2 separate regions of the Homo sapiens genome follow, and region 1 is linked to region 2. Evidence: promoter capture Hi-C in human tissues and cell types (Jung and others, 2019). All regions are on one chromosome and are shown on one strand. Each heading gives the region's core, a stretch centred on a gene start or on the middle of the fragment in contact. The rest is flanking DNA. Distances are from core to core; before and after follow the strand shown. Region 1 overlaps LINC00904 (long intergenic non-protein coding RNA 904). Region 2 holds the start of HPN (hepsin).

Region 1 (6,382 bases), core at 1,343-3,842, 150 kb before region 2:
TTCGTTCACAAAAGATCATGCCATCACCAGCCCAGATAGTCCTGCCTGCTAGAGGCTTCCTGCCTCTTCATGGCAGTGAAGGAGGTGCAGCAGCGCTGTATGGCCAGCCACATTCTCCTTCCTGCTGCCAGAGAAAGGAAGAGCTTGATGAAGGCCATTATCAACTCAGCTCTCCAGCCACATTGAAGTCAAAGACAGCAACTCACAGAGGAAAGCTTTCAGATACTCTGTCAATGAGAAATTCTCCACTCACATCTGCCAGTTGTAGTCTCTGTAAACAGAAATTGTCAGTGCCCCTGCTGCTGCCATTGCTGCCCCCATTGCCACTGTTGTGAGAGTGAGGAGAGCTGCCCCCATCTCCTACCTTCCCTGCATAGTTACTGCAGAAGACCTTAGCTTGGAGAACCCTGAACACGAAGGGAACCTCAGGGTGGGAGAATAATTCTCAGGTCCCTTCAGACAGCGTAGCAGCTCAGCCTTCCTGTTCTCCCTACCTGCTGTGGAGGCCACAGATCCTTTGCCATTGGTCACCTTTTCCTTGCAGATTCCAGAAACTACCAAATTAGCAGTCACTGACTTGGCTGGCCTGTTAGGCCACTCATACTCTCTGACCCTGTACCTACACACACATCAGATACTGATCATGAAATGAGATGCACAGTTCCTGACTCTCCTTTTGCTCTTCCTGCTATTTCTCACTTTGGATTCCAACCTATATTTGCTATTCCACTTAATAATGAGAACAGGGGCCCTCTGCATTCCAGTCCCTCGGTCATACTTGCGGGATCCTCTACTTCTGCCTAACCCACACGTCCTAGAACTTTCTCCCTCTCCTTAAAGCTTACCTTCTGCAGAATGGAGTCATATACACCTGTGCAGGTGGATTCTCCTCCCCTTTTCTTACAGACCCCTCCTCAAGTTGCTTGCACCAGTACCCCTGTCTTTACCAGCCAACCCATCACTGCTTCTGCAGTCACTTCTAGCATGCCAGGCAGCCTGTCTGCAGACTGGACTTCCCAGCCTGCCTGGACTGTGTTATAATTGATGTGGATAGTACTCTTCCTTCCAAGCTTTCTTCTTCAGGTCTCCCTCAAGATCCGGGGTGAGCTTCCTCCCATTGGACCAGGCCCATCCCAGTGTGGAGCGGATATCCCCTGCAAAGGCCATCATCCCCACCAGCCCACCTGCTTTTATGGTCAGCAGCCCTACTTGAACTTCTAAGCTTGCTTTTGATTCAGGAAACACTTACCAGCTGAAATCTGGGGGTCCTGATTCAGGGCCTTGCCAGAGAACCACTCCCCCCAGTGCCCTGTCTTTTCTGGCCCACCTACCACTGATTCTGCAGTCACCTCCACTCCAGTATACAACCCGTCTTCAGACTTGGTGTCTCCGCCTGACTTTGCCTCTAAGGAAATCAACATGGGTACCATGCCCATGTCCCCATCTGTTATCATCCTGTCTCTCCCTGCAATGTTAACAGCTGTTTCCCTTTGAGAAACCTGCCAGCCCCTGAAAACCCTTCACACTTAACCTCTACTGCAGCCCTAGAACCCAATGGCAGCACAACTCAGTTGGCTTTTGGGAACTAAACACTCCCGTGTCCACTTTGGCATCAATGTCAGCATTCAGGCAGCCCATGGTGGTGCCTCGGGTGTTTTACCCATTGGTGTGGACACTCTTACTCTTGCCATGAAATGCTACCAGAAAGCACAACACTGAGGACTGTTGCTCATTTCTTGCTGATGCCAATCCAAGCCAATTTGTATTTGTGGGATCTGAAGCCCTTATGGATAGCAAAAGCTTTGGGGTCATTGGGTCTACCACGCAGAGTCTACCACCACATCTAGATCGCTTAGCTTTGGAGCAAAATGGCTGGGGGACAGCCAGTACCACAGCTCATGATGGGGGAGGCTTAGACCTGAGCGCCAGGGTCCTGTCAGCCCTGATGCACTCCTGCTGCAATTGGAGAAGCCGGCACTGCTGAGAGCAAATCAAATCTGCCCTGGGAAACACTTTCCTTCCCACCTGTAGTTAGAGCACCTGGTGCCAGCCCAGCCAAAACACGCCTACTACTACTGGAAGATTTGTGATCACTGAGAAGGAGTGTTTCAGAAGACATGGCTGTTCCCCCTTTTGTTCAGATCACCTGGGACCTGTTTGGCCAGAGCACTTGTGTTCCAGTGGAAGGGACCAGCACCATACCTGTGCTGAGATCCTTCTCTTCCTGCCCCAGTCAAGCCACCTGGGGCACACCTAACTAAAGTACACCTGTTGCAGTCTAAGGGACCAGCACTGCATCTATGCTCGGATGCCTTTATGTTCCTACCTATAGCCAGAACACCTGAATCCCACCTGTCCAGGGCACGTGTGTTGCAATGGAAGGGGCCAACATCATACCTATTTTTAGAGAGTCTTCTCTTCCTGCATATGGTCTAAGTACTGGGGCCCACCTGGCCAGAGCAAACCTGCTGGAGATACCTGCACCACTGAGAAGAAATGCATGCCACGTGATATATCTGTTCATTCCTTCCATCAGACACCTAGGGCCCACCTGTGCTGTTTGAAGGGCTGGCATTTCACCTGTGATTGGAGATGCTACTGGCAGAGGACCTGGGGTACACAGTCTGGAGCACAGGTGATACACTGGGCGGAGGCAGCCCCATTCCTGGGCTCCAGGGTATTTGTATGCTCAGCATCATTGACAGCTGCTGGCGTGGTCTTGCCCAGGGCACATCTGTTACAGTCTCCCAGGAGAACACCATACATACACCTTTAGGAAGACACTTCTATTCCTGCACTCACTCACAATACCTGGGCTCTATCTAGACAAAGTAGCCCTCTGACTTGGTGTAGTGAACACCATTGAGAAAATACCTGGCTATGGGCCAGTTTTCCATTAGTCTTAGACTGGCAGGACCCCTTGCTGCCTATAGATATCCCGTTTTGTCTTGCCCATTTGCCTTAACAAGCCCCGTTCTTTCTTTTCCAGATTGCTATACAAATATGATATAACATAGCCTTGTTCTTATTCATTAATCCTCTGTGCTAAGCTTCAGCACTTTTGCTCCATCTTTCAGGGCAAATGTACCTCCAGCATGAGCATGGAAGCAGCAGTCTCGCTTAGGACACATTTGTCACCTGCCCAGGCTTCCTTTGGAGGCCAAAGTTTGGGATCACCAACTCATTCATTTTCTTCTAGTGAAAGAAACAATATCTCATCAACTTTAAGCAAAAGCTATCCAGAAGTAGCTGATAGTGGTGGGGGACCACAGTTTGCCATAAATGGACCTTGCTCCATTAGGAAGAGGCTCCACCTCTTCTAGTTATGTCAAACAAACTTAACCTGCCCTCTATCATCCTAAAGAAAGCTGGCAGCCCAACCCTTCAGGTGTTTTGTATATATGTTAAAGGGTGTGGGTTCAGATGAGACTGGTCAGAAGTCAACACACTGGCCTTGAGGCAGTCTACTGTGGAAAGAAGAAAAAGATCAGTAAGTATATCCACCACACCATACCCAGTTTCAACTTCTCAGTCTGGTAGAACCAAGCTATGGGCCAGTTTTCCTGCCATCTTACGCTGGCAGGACCCCTTGCTGCCTGTAGCTGCCTCCTTTGGTCCAGCCCATTTGCCTCAGTGGGCCCTTTTCTTTCTTTCCTAGACTGATAAACACACACACACATATATATATACACACACATATATGTTATATGTGTATATATATATACACACACATATAATGTATATGTATGTGTATATATATACATATATACATCACGTGTGTGTATATATATATATATAGAGAGAGAGAGAGAGAATGCCTTCCTTTTGTTCATTGATCCTCTCTGCTTACATGTCTTTTCTATTTTAGTCAACGGTGGAAGAAGAATTGACTTCTTTCTATAAGTGGTGCTGTGTTGAGGCAGATGTAACTTTTCAAAGTTCTATGGCTCAGCAAATAGGAGGTGGCATAGCCACACTTTACAACTGCACAGGCTGACATCTGACATCTCTGTGTTTTGATGTAAAGGATAGCAGCCATGAGGAAGGGAAGCTCAAAGGAGGAAGGGATGGGTGACCCTCCCTTGCCTTTTCCCTCTGTGCTCCTCTTCCATCACTCTGATTTGGTCGTACGCCAGACCACCCCCGATGTGTGTTAGGGAAACAAAATTAACAAATTTGGTTGAAAATAATTAAATGTCTCATTTGTGTCTTTCTCTTTCATTTAGACTTAAGAAAATCATCCCCACATATTCACACCTCGACCAAAGAGGATGGGTATGGTATAGAGGCCCTTATGTCTAGAAGAAAAAAAGGAAGAAAAAGCTCATGGCTCCTTTGTGATTATTGGAAATTTTAAGACTAGGATGTCACATATTATATAGAAGTGTTTTCATGCTCCATGAAAATTCAGAAAAGATCATTTTTTCAAGAAAATACCTAGATAAGGTCTATTTGGAAAAGTAATTGGTCTGGCTCTAGTATAAAACCCTAAAATAGCAAATTACAGTCCTTACCATTTTATCCAAATCTAGCTGGCTGTGGAGTCCTGCTGTGTCTCCAATAGACTTAATTCCTGAAAATACAATCTTTCCTAAGATAATTCAAGGTTCAGGAGAACCAGCTGAAGCTGGGGGAAAAAGAAAAATGTAAGCATTTCCCTTAGCTTAGACATATTATTTTACTAAATACTTATTCAGAGTTGATTCTACACTAGACATTGTGCTTGAGCCTAGTGACATATAGCTGAAAGGCATCTATTGCCTCAAAGGAATTTACAATATAGTAGGAGTGATGGGTGAATATATCAAAAGTAAAATCGGAGGGGTTACTAGTAGGGATATGGGAGCAGTAGGAACACAAAACTAAGAATATCATTTCTTCAGAAACTAACAGAACTAGACTAACAGCAATGAACAAAAAAAAATTGTAAATCCTTCCCTATCGATAATTACTTTAAATATAAATAGATTAAATTTCTCAATCAAAAGACACAGAGTAGCTGGATGGATAAAAAGAATTACCCAACTATATTCTGTTTACAGGAAACTCACTTTAGATTTAAGGACATACATTGTTTGAAAGTGAATGAATGGAAAAAGATATTCCATGCAAATAGTAACCAGAAGTGAGTCAGGTGGCTACACTTATATTAGACAAAATAGACTTTAAGTCAAAAACTACCGTAAGAGACAGCAAAGGACATTATATAATGATACATGGGTTAATTCATCAGGAAAATATAACAATTATAAATATATATGAACCAAACATAAGAACACCTAAATATATAAAGCAAACATTGGCAGGAATAAAGGGAGAAATAGACACTTTATAATAATAATAGGAGACTTCAATTCCTAACTTTCTGTATGGATAGAACATGCAGACAGAAGATCAATTAGTAAAATCAAGACTTAAACAACACTGAAGACCAAATAGGCCTAACAGGCATATACAGAACATCTCACCCAATAGCAACAGAATACACATCATTCTCAAGCCCACATAAAATATTCTCGGGTATAGATCAATTATAATTTTATCTAGATCTGGGTGGCTATAGAGTCCTGCCATGTCTCCAGTAGACTTAATTCCTGGAAAATACAGTCTTTTCTAAGATAATTCACAGTTTAGGAGAGCCAGCTGAAGCTAAGGAAAAAGATCAAATAACAAATTTAAGAAGATCATATCAAGTATCTTTTCTGAGCTAAGTGGAATGAAACTAGAAGTCAACACCAGAAGGAAAACTGGAAAATTCACAAATACGTGGAAATTGAACACTGAAGAGGAGAGTACACTTCCAAACTCATTTTATGAGGCCAGCATTACCCTGACACCAATGCCAAAGACAGCACAAGAAGAAACTATTGGCCAATATCCCTGATGAACATAGATGCGAAAATCCTTAGCAAAGTATTAGCAAATTGAATTTAACAGCACATTAAAATAATCAGACACCATAATCAAGTGGGATTTATCCCTGAGATGCAAGGAGGGATCAATATATGAAAATCAATTAATGTGATTTACTGCATTAACATAATGAAGGATAAAAATCATTTTATGTGGCTCTGAAACCCAATGGCAGCACAACTCAGCTTTTGGAAATTGGAATATGCAGGAAAGGCATTTGATGAAATTTGACACCCTTTCATAAGGAAAAATATCTCAACAAATTAGGTTACATGGAATGTATCTCAACACAGTAAAGGCCAATAGGAAAAGGCCATAGCTAACATACAGTCAACAGTGAAAAACTGAAAGCTTTTCCTCTAAAATTAAGAACAAGGCAAGGATTCCTGCTCTTACTACTTCTACTTAACTTACTACTGGAAGTCCTGGCCAGAGCAATTAAGGAAGTGAAATAAATAAAAGGCATCCA
Region 2 (5,995 bases), core at 1-2,500:
CCCGTCACCTTCCCCCCATTCCCGTCCCCGAATCTTCGAGCCCGCTTTCCAGGGACCCTACCTGAGGGCCCACAGGTGAAGCCACTTAGTGCCTGATCTGTGTCGGGGTTGGGGGAGCCATGGGCTCAGGGGTGAGGGAGAGTGGAACGGAGCCAGGAAGGGAGGGGGTGCCGTGGAGGGAAGAGAATCGAGGCTGATGCTGGGGTGCAGGGGTGGCATGGGGTGTGTGGTGTGCCCAGCAGTGTGAGTCTCTGGAGAGGTGGGCGCTGGGGAGAAGGAGAGGGAAGGAGAGACGGGTATGGATGGAAAGGCAGAGGAAGCCAGGCTAAACCAGCGTGTCCCAATGAGGGGCCCTGGGCTGAGTGGAGGAAATGGGTGCGGTGGAGGTGGGTTTGGCTGGGCACAGCGGGCACGTGTGGGTAAGCGGGTGGGGCCGGTTGTGCGGGTGGCCTATCTGGGGCAAGCAGCCGAGGCCGACTGTGTCCGGCGTGTGGTTGAGCACGGGCAGGTGTCTGGCGGTGACCCTGCACGTCTGGTGTTTACCTGGCCCTGGGTCTGACGTGGGCCGCGCCTGGCTGCTGGCGGGACAGTGTGTTATCTGCCTGCGGACGCTTCCGGCCACTTGGCCTGGGCCTCTGCCCTTAGCGCTGTGTTTTCCCGGCCAAGCCCCCCATCCCCCCTATCTAGTGCTAGGACTTTCTGGCTCCAGAGGTCACCGCGGCCGGGCGGAGGCTGCCAAAGCAAACCAGCCCCGTGACTTGTAGGAAGCCAGCGGGGGAGGGGCCGGGGCAGGATGAGCAGGGCAGGCGGGAGAGGCTGGGGCTGGGGTTGGGGCCCAGGAATTGGGCAGGGAATTAGGCAGAGGTGCAGCAAGTGGCGGGCACAGCCAGGACCTGGGGCTGGAGGACGCAGAAAGGGCGGGGGGAAGGGTTCGCTGGGTGAGGGTGGAGTGGGCTTAGGGCAGCTGGGGCCCTCCATCTGATCTCTTCTGGTCAGACCCCCACCCTTCAGCCTGCACTTTCTCCCTAAACCCCCAGCCTCCGGCCAGGCCTGTCCCTGTTCCCACATCCCCGCAGACAGGCACACCTGGGTCCCCCTGGAGGTCCAAGGCAAGCCCCGTAGCTGGGCCCGCCTGGTCCAGCCCCCACAAGCCCGGCCCCATCAGCCAGGTGGCCTCCAGTGCTGCCAATCGAATGGTCCGGCCCCTCCCCGCCCCTTCACCCGCCCCTCGCCCAGCCCCCTCCTCCTCAGGTGAGGCAGCCTGGCCTAGCAGGCCCCACGCCACCGCCTCTGCCTCCAGGCCGCCCGCTGCTGCGGGGCCACCATGCTCCTGCCCAGGCCTGGAGACTGACCCGACCCCGGCACTACCTCGAGGCTCCGCCCCCACCTGCTGGACCCCAGGGTAAGGACAAGGGCCCCCAGACTCACAGTTCCAGCCCTGAGGACAGGGGTTCCCTCATCCCCCCACCCAGCCTAATGCCCACCTCCTAATAGAGGGGTTCCTGGGGACCTGAAGAGGGGGCACTATGACGTCCCCCCAAGCACCTAGGTGTTCTGTCCTGCTCTTCCTTCAGACTCAGCCGTTGGACCCCAGTCCTTTCCTCCCCAGACCCAGGAGTTCCAGCCCTCAGGCCCCTCCTCCCTCATACTAGGGAGTCCTGGCCCCCAAATTCCTCCTTTCCCAAGACTTATGATTTCAGGTCCTCAGCTGTCTCCTCCCTCAAACCGGGATCCTCAGTCCCCTGCTCCACCAGGCTCAGGCATGGGGGTCCCCATCCCTGCAAATCCAGGCGTCCCCCCGCTGCTGGTCAGACACTGACCCCATCCTTGAACCCAGCCCAATCTGCGTCCGTGATCACGGCGTGCTCTGGCCAAGGCCCAGTCCCTACAGCCTGCCTGGATGGACGCCTGGGACTGGGGGCGCCAGGACTGGGCTGGGCTGGGCTCCCCCAGGCCCTGCCTCCCCGTCCATCTCCTCACAGGTCCCACCCTGGCCCAGGAGGTCAGCCAGGGAATCATTAACAAGAGGCAGTGACATGGCGCAGAAGGAGGGTGAGTCCCCTTCCCTGAGCCCCAGCTTTGGCTCTGCCTGGCGCCCCGCCCTCTGTGCTCTTTTCTCTACCCTCTACTCTTCGGAGCCCCCTCTCTCTGGGCACCCCTCCCAGATGCATCCCCACCCCTGTTAGTCCTCCTCCACCTGATTAACTATTAACCACATTTTCTGTGCAGCTGTGCCACCACCAGCCTCCCTTCTACCCTATGTGACCTTCCTGGCGTGCTGCCTCAGTTTCCCCTCATCCCCCAGTGATTTCTCAGCTAACTCTGGACTTGTCCTCTGCTGGGGCTGAGGCGGGGAAGCTGTAGCTGTCATGGTTAAGGACACAGATTTGGAGTGAAACACACAGGCTTGCATTTGAATTTGCTCTTGCCATCTTTTTTGCTGTGTGATCTGGTGCAAGTGACATTATTCTTAGGGCTTTGGTCTCCCTCTGGGTCAAGCATGGATACCAGTCCTCCCTCTGTGAGGTTGCTGAGTGCATGACACACACCAGGCACTGGTCTGGGGCTCTGCATATAAGACGCATGCCATCAAGCAGAGCTGTCATGACAGAGGTTGGCAAACTCGGAGTCCCAGAGACCCAGGACCCCCACCGATCCCAGACATTCCTCCACCTCCTGGCTCTGTGGGCAAAAGAGCAGAGGGAGGACTTTGGACTGGGCCTGGATGGATGGAGAGGGGAGAGACGGCAGAGAAACCACCATAAGGATGAGAGAGAGAGACTGCGTCATGGAGTTGCTGGCCCTTGGGAGTCTCTGGGCAGCCCCCAGCTAGCCTGGCTTCCTTTCTACCTCTCACACATGGGACCCAGCTGGAGGGGCGCATGGAGGGGCGTCCTGTTCTTTCTGCCTTCCCCTAGCTGGGGCTGACTCCCTCTCTTCTTCCGCAACCAGGATAGCCGGGCTCAGTCCTGGGCAGTAGCACTTTCTAGCTGTGTGGCCCTGGGCAGACGGCGTGTTCTCCCTGGGCCTCCATTCTCTCATCTGTGAAATGGAGAGGGTGACAGTGCATGTCCAACAGCGTGGGGCGAGGCCTGAAATGCCAGGATGGGCAGGAAGCACTGAGCGTGTTGGCTGAAATGATTAGTTCAGATCTCTGGCCTCCTCGGGTCTCGGCACAGCTGGCAATTCAGACCCCAAACCAATCAGCTGCAGTCCAGAGGGAACCCAGGCTCCCAGTTACTCAGGAGAAGGCATTGCACCCTAGCCGAGCAGGTGGATGACAGAATCCAGCTCCTTGGGGACAATCTCTTTCCTGGAGCTGCCGGAAGGACAGCCCCAGGGCTTGGGCCCATGGGTGAATGAGCCAGGGAAGAAAAGCAGAAAATGCCCGAATGGACAGAGATGGCCTGGGTACAAAGAGAAACAGACACAAAGTGGGCTCTGGTGCCTCCCTGGCAGCTCCGGGCTGGTCTTGGAGGGGAGTCCTGCTGTCAGGGCTAGGGGTGTGGAGGTCGAACCTGGACACAGATGCTGAAGGGTTCCGATTCTGCACTTACTTGCCGGGTGACCCGGGTTTGGTGGCTGCCGGACTTTGGGCCTCCTTTTCTCATCTGTAAACTGGGGGTGATGGCAATGGCGCCTTCCTCGTGAACAGCTGCAAGGATTTAAGTAAGGATGCTGTGCAGGACTGGACGGGGTTAGGGTAGGGCGGTGCGTCCGTGTGTGATTCAGAGAGCCGTTGTGGCTGCAGCGGCTGCTGTTGTTGGTGTCACTGTTATTGCTGCTGGCTTCTTGGTGCTGCCTGGAAACTTGGAATTGGAGGAGGTGATACTGGAGTTGCAATTCCAAGGATGCCAGGCAGAGGGAAGAGCAAGGCTCTTGCTCTTCTCTGGGAAGCTGGGAGGTGACACAGCACTGGTGTGCACGTAGCCAATTGTGGTATTTCTGGAGGTGAAGCTGGAAGTTGAGCTGGGTGGGAGAAGAGGTGTGCAAGCTGGACCAGGCAGGGGTGGGACTGTTTTGGGGAAGAGCTGGCCAATTCCTTGCAGTACCAGGTCTCTCCACAAGGTGGCGCCAGTGGTTAGTCCCTGCTTCTCTTGTCTAACTTGTATTTTACAAGTTCTACTGTTTGGGTTGCTTTTTGGAAGCTCTCTCTGGTACCTGATAGTGACCCACATGGTTGTCTGAGAATTGGGGGAAACATACTCCCAAATCTCTGAAAGCCATGCTTATACCCTAGTGGGGCTGGAAATGCCAGGCTGAGGGACTTAAGCTGTCTGGGGGGTACTAGGGAGTCACAGAGGGTTCTATAGGTAAAGAGGGGACAGGTTGGATTTGGTGTCTCAGTAGGTTCCCCAAGCCTCCGTGTGGAGGGTGCGCTAGAAGGGAGACTGAGCCCAGCGGTTGGATGGGGCCGGAGCAAGGTGCAGATGGAGAGAAAGAAGGAAACGGGGGAAGGAGAGTCACTCAGGAGGATTGGCAGGCTGTCGGGGGAGGGGAATGTTATGCAGATGGGGATGGTCCTAGGAGTGAGGGCCTCTGAGACAGGACCGGGAGGAAGAATATACTTGGGGAGACATTGGGGAGACATTCTGGGACCTGGTAGGGGCAAAGGGACTAGGAGGTCCCAGGGAAAGGTATTTAAAAGGTATTTAAAGGACTGCAGGAGCCCTGACCTGGGACCTGGAAGAGGGTCTAGGGCTGGGGACAGAGGGGAAACTGAGTCCACAGAGGTGGGTGAGACAGACTTAGGGGCAAGGAGGAGCAGGGGGAGGCTGCGGCCAGCCCTACAAACTCTGGATTTTACGGAGTAGGTAGAGGGTGGGTGAAGACAGCAGCCTCAGAGGCGGGAAGGAAAATCAGGTGCGCCTGGTGTCCCAGAAGTCCAAAGAGGAGAGCATTTATACAGGAAGCTGCAGTCATGTAAGATGAGGCCCGAGACACGGAGCCACCAGTTGAGTGGATTTTCAGAGCCAGAGAGCCAAAGGTGTTACGCGTGGGGGTCTTTGCAGCCAAATGGTGGAGGCGGAAGAACTGACCTATGAGAAGACCCAAGGCATCCAGAGGGGCCTGGAGAAGCAGGGGCAGAGAGTCTCAGGGAGATGTAGGGGTGGGGGAGGTCTGGCTTACCAAGGGAAATAGCCCTGCTGCTGGGATCAAAGAATTGATGTTGACGTGCCGCCTGTCCCAGTAGAGACACGCAGGGAGGATGAGGATGCGTCCCACACCCTGGGCCAGATGAGGATGCTGCCTGTCCCAGTAGAGACACGCAGGGAGGATGAGGATGCGTCCCACACCGTGGGCCAGATGAGGATGCTGCCTGTCCCAGTAGAGACATGCAGGGAGGATGCCTCTCATACTGGGGGAACCCCAGGATGCAGATGCTTCCTGTCCCACTGGAGGCGCTGAAGTCCTCTGAACCACACAGCATGGAAGGAGGTTCTTCCTCTCACCCTAGGAGACACATACATAGTGGCATTGCTTCCTGTCCCACCAGATGTGCCAAGGCCTCTAGGCTGCATTCTGCATGGCCTAGAGCCCTGGCAGGCACAGCTGAAAACAAAGCAAGCAAGACCAGCCCAGTGGCTGTCGGGAGCCAAGACCTCCTGCTGGAACCTGGAGAGTGGTCCTGGGCAGAGTTGGGGGGCAGGCCTGAGAACCCCTCGCAGGACAGGCAGGGGTCAGCCGGCAGTAGTTGGGCTGGTCTGGCCCACTGGGGCCTCTTTTGGGGAAGAGAGTGTTTCCTCATGCCTTGATGGGAGCCACTGAGCTTTCAATTTTTTTTTTTTTTTAATACAGAGTCTCGCTCTGTTGCCCAGGCTAGAGTACAGTGGCGCAATCTTGATTCACTGCAACCTCCACCTCCCGGGTTCAAGCGATTCTCCTGCCTCAGCTTCCCGAGTAGCTGGGACTATAGGCGCCCGCCACCACACCCAGCTAATTTTTGTATTTTTAGTAGAGGCGGGGTTTCACCATGTTGGCCAGGCTGGTCTTG

The links. The method cuts DNA at HindIII sites, captures the fragments that hold promoters and counts their contacts. A contact is called where the count stands out against the background at its distance.
Region 1: a contact is called between a fragment that was not itself captured here and the fragment with the promoter of HPN in region 2, in 1 of the 25 tissues and cell types used here (lymphoblastoid cells).

Annotation. Positions count from the first base shown.
Region 1 is chr19:34,888,830-34,895,211 of GRCh38, forward strand. LINC00904 (long intergenic non-protein coding RNA 904) reads right to left here. Exons shown (of 6, transcript NR_187844.1): 5 at 4,515-4,627; 6 at 3,003-3,467. Among named protein-coding and RNA genes, the nearest start is that of LINC00904, 13 kb to the right of the region's middle. The HindIII fragment of the contact is 4,130 bases long and covers 528-4,657 here.
Region 2 is chr19:35,040,471-35,046,465 of GRCh38, forward strand. It overlaps HPN (hepsin), which reads left to right and starts at 1,251. Exons shown (of 13, transcript NM_001384133.1): 1 at 1,251-1,402; 2 at 1,983-2,052. The coding sequence starts at 2,037. RefSeq lists an enhancer at 1-722. The HindIII fragment of the contact is 10,578 bases long and covers 1-5,995 here.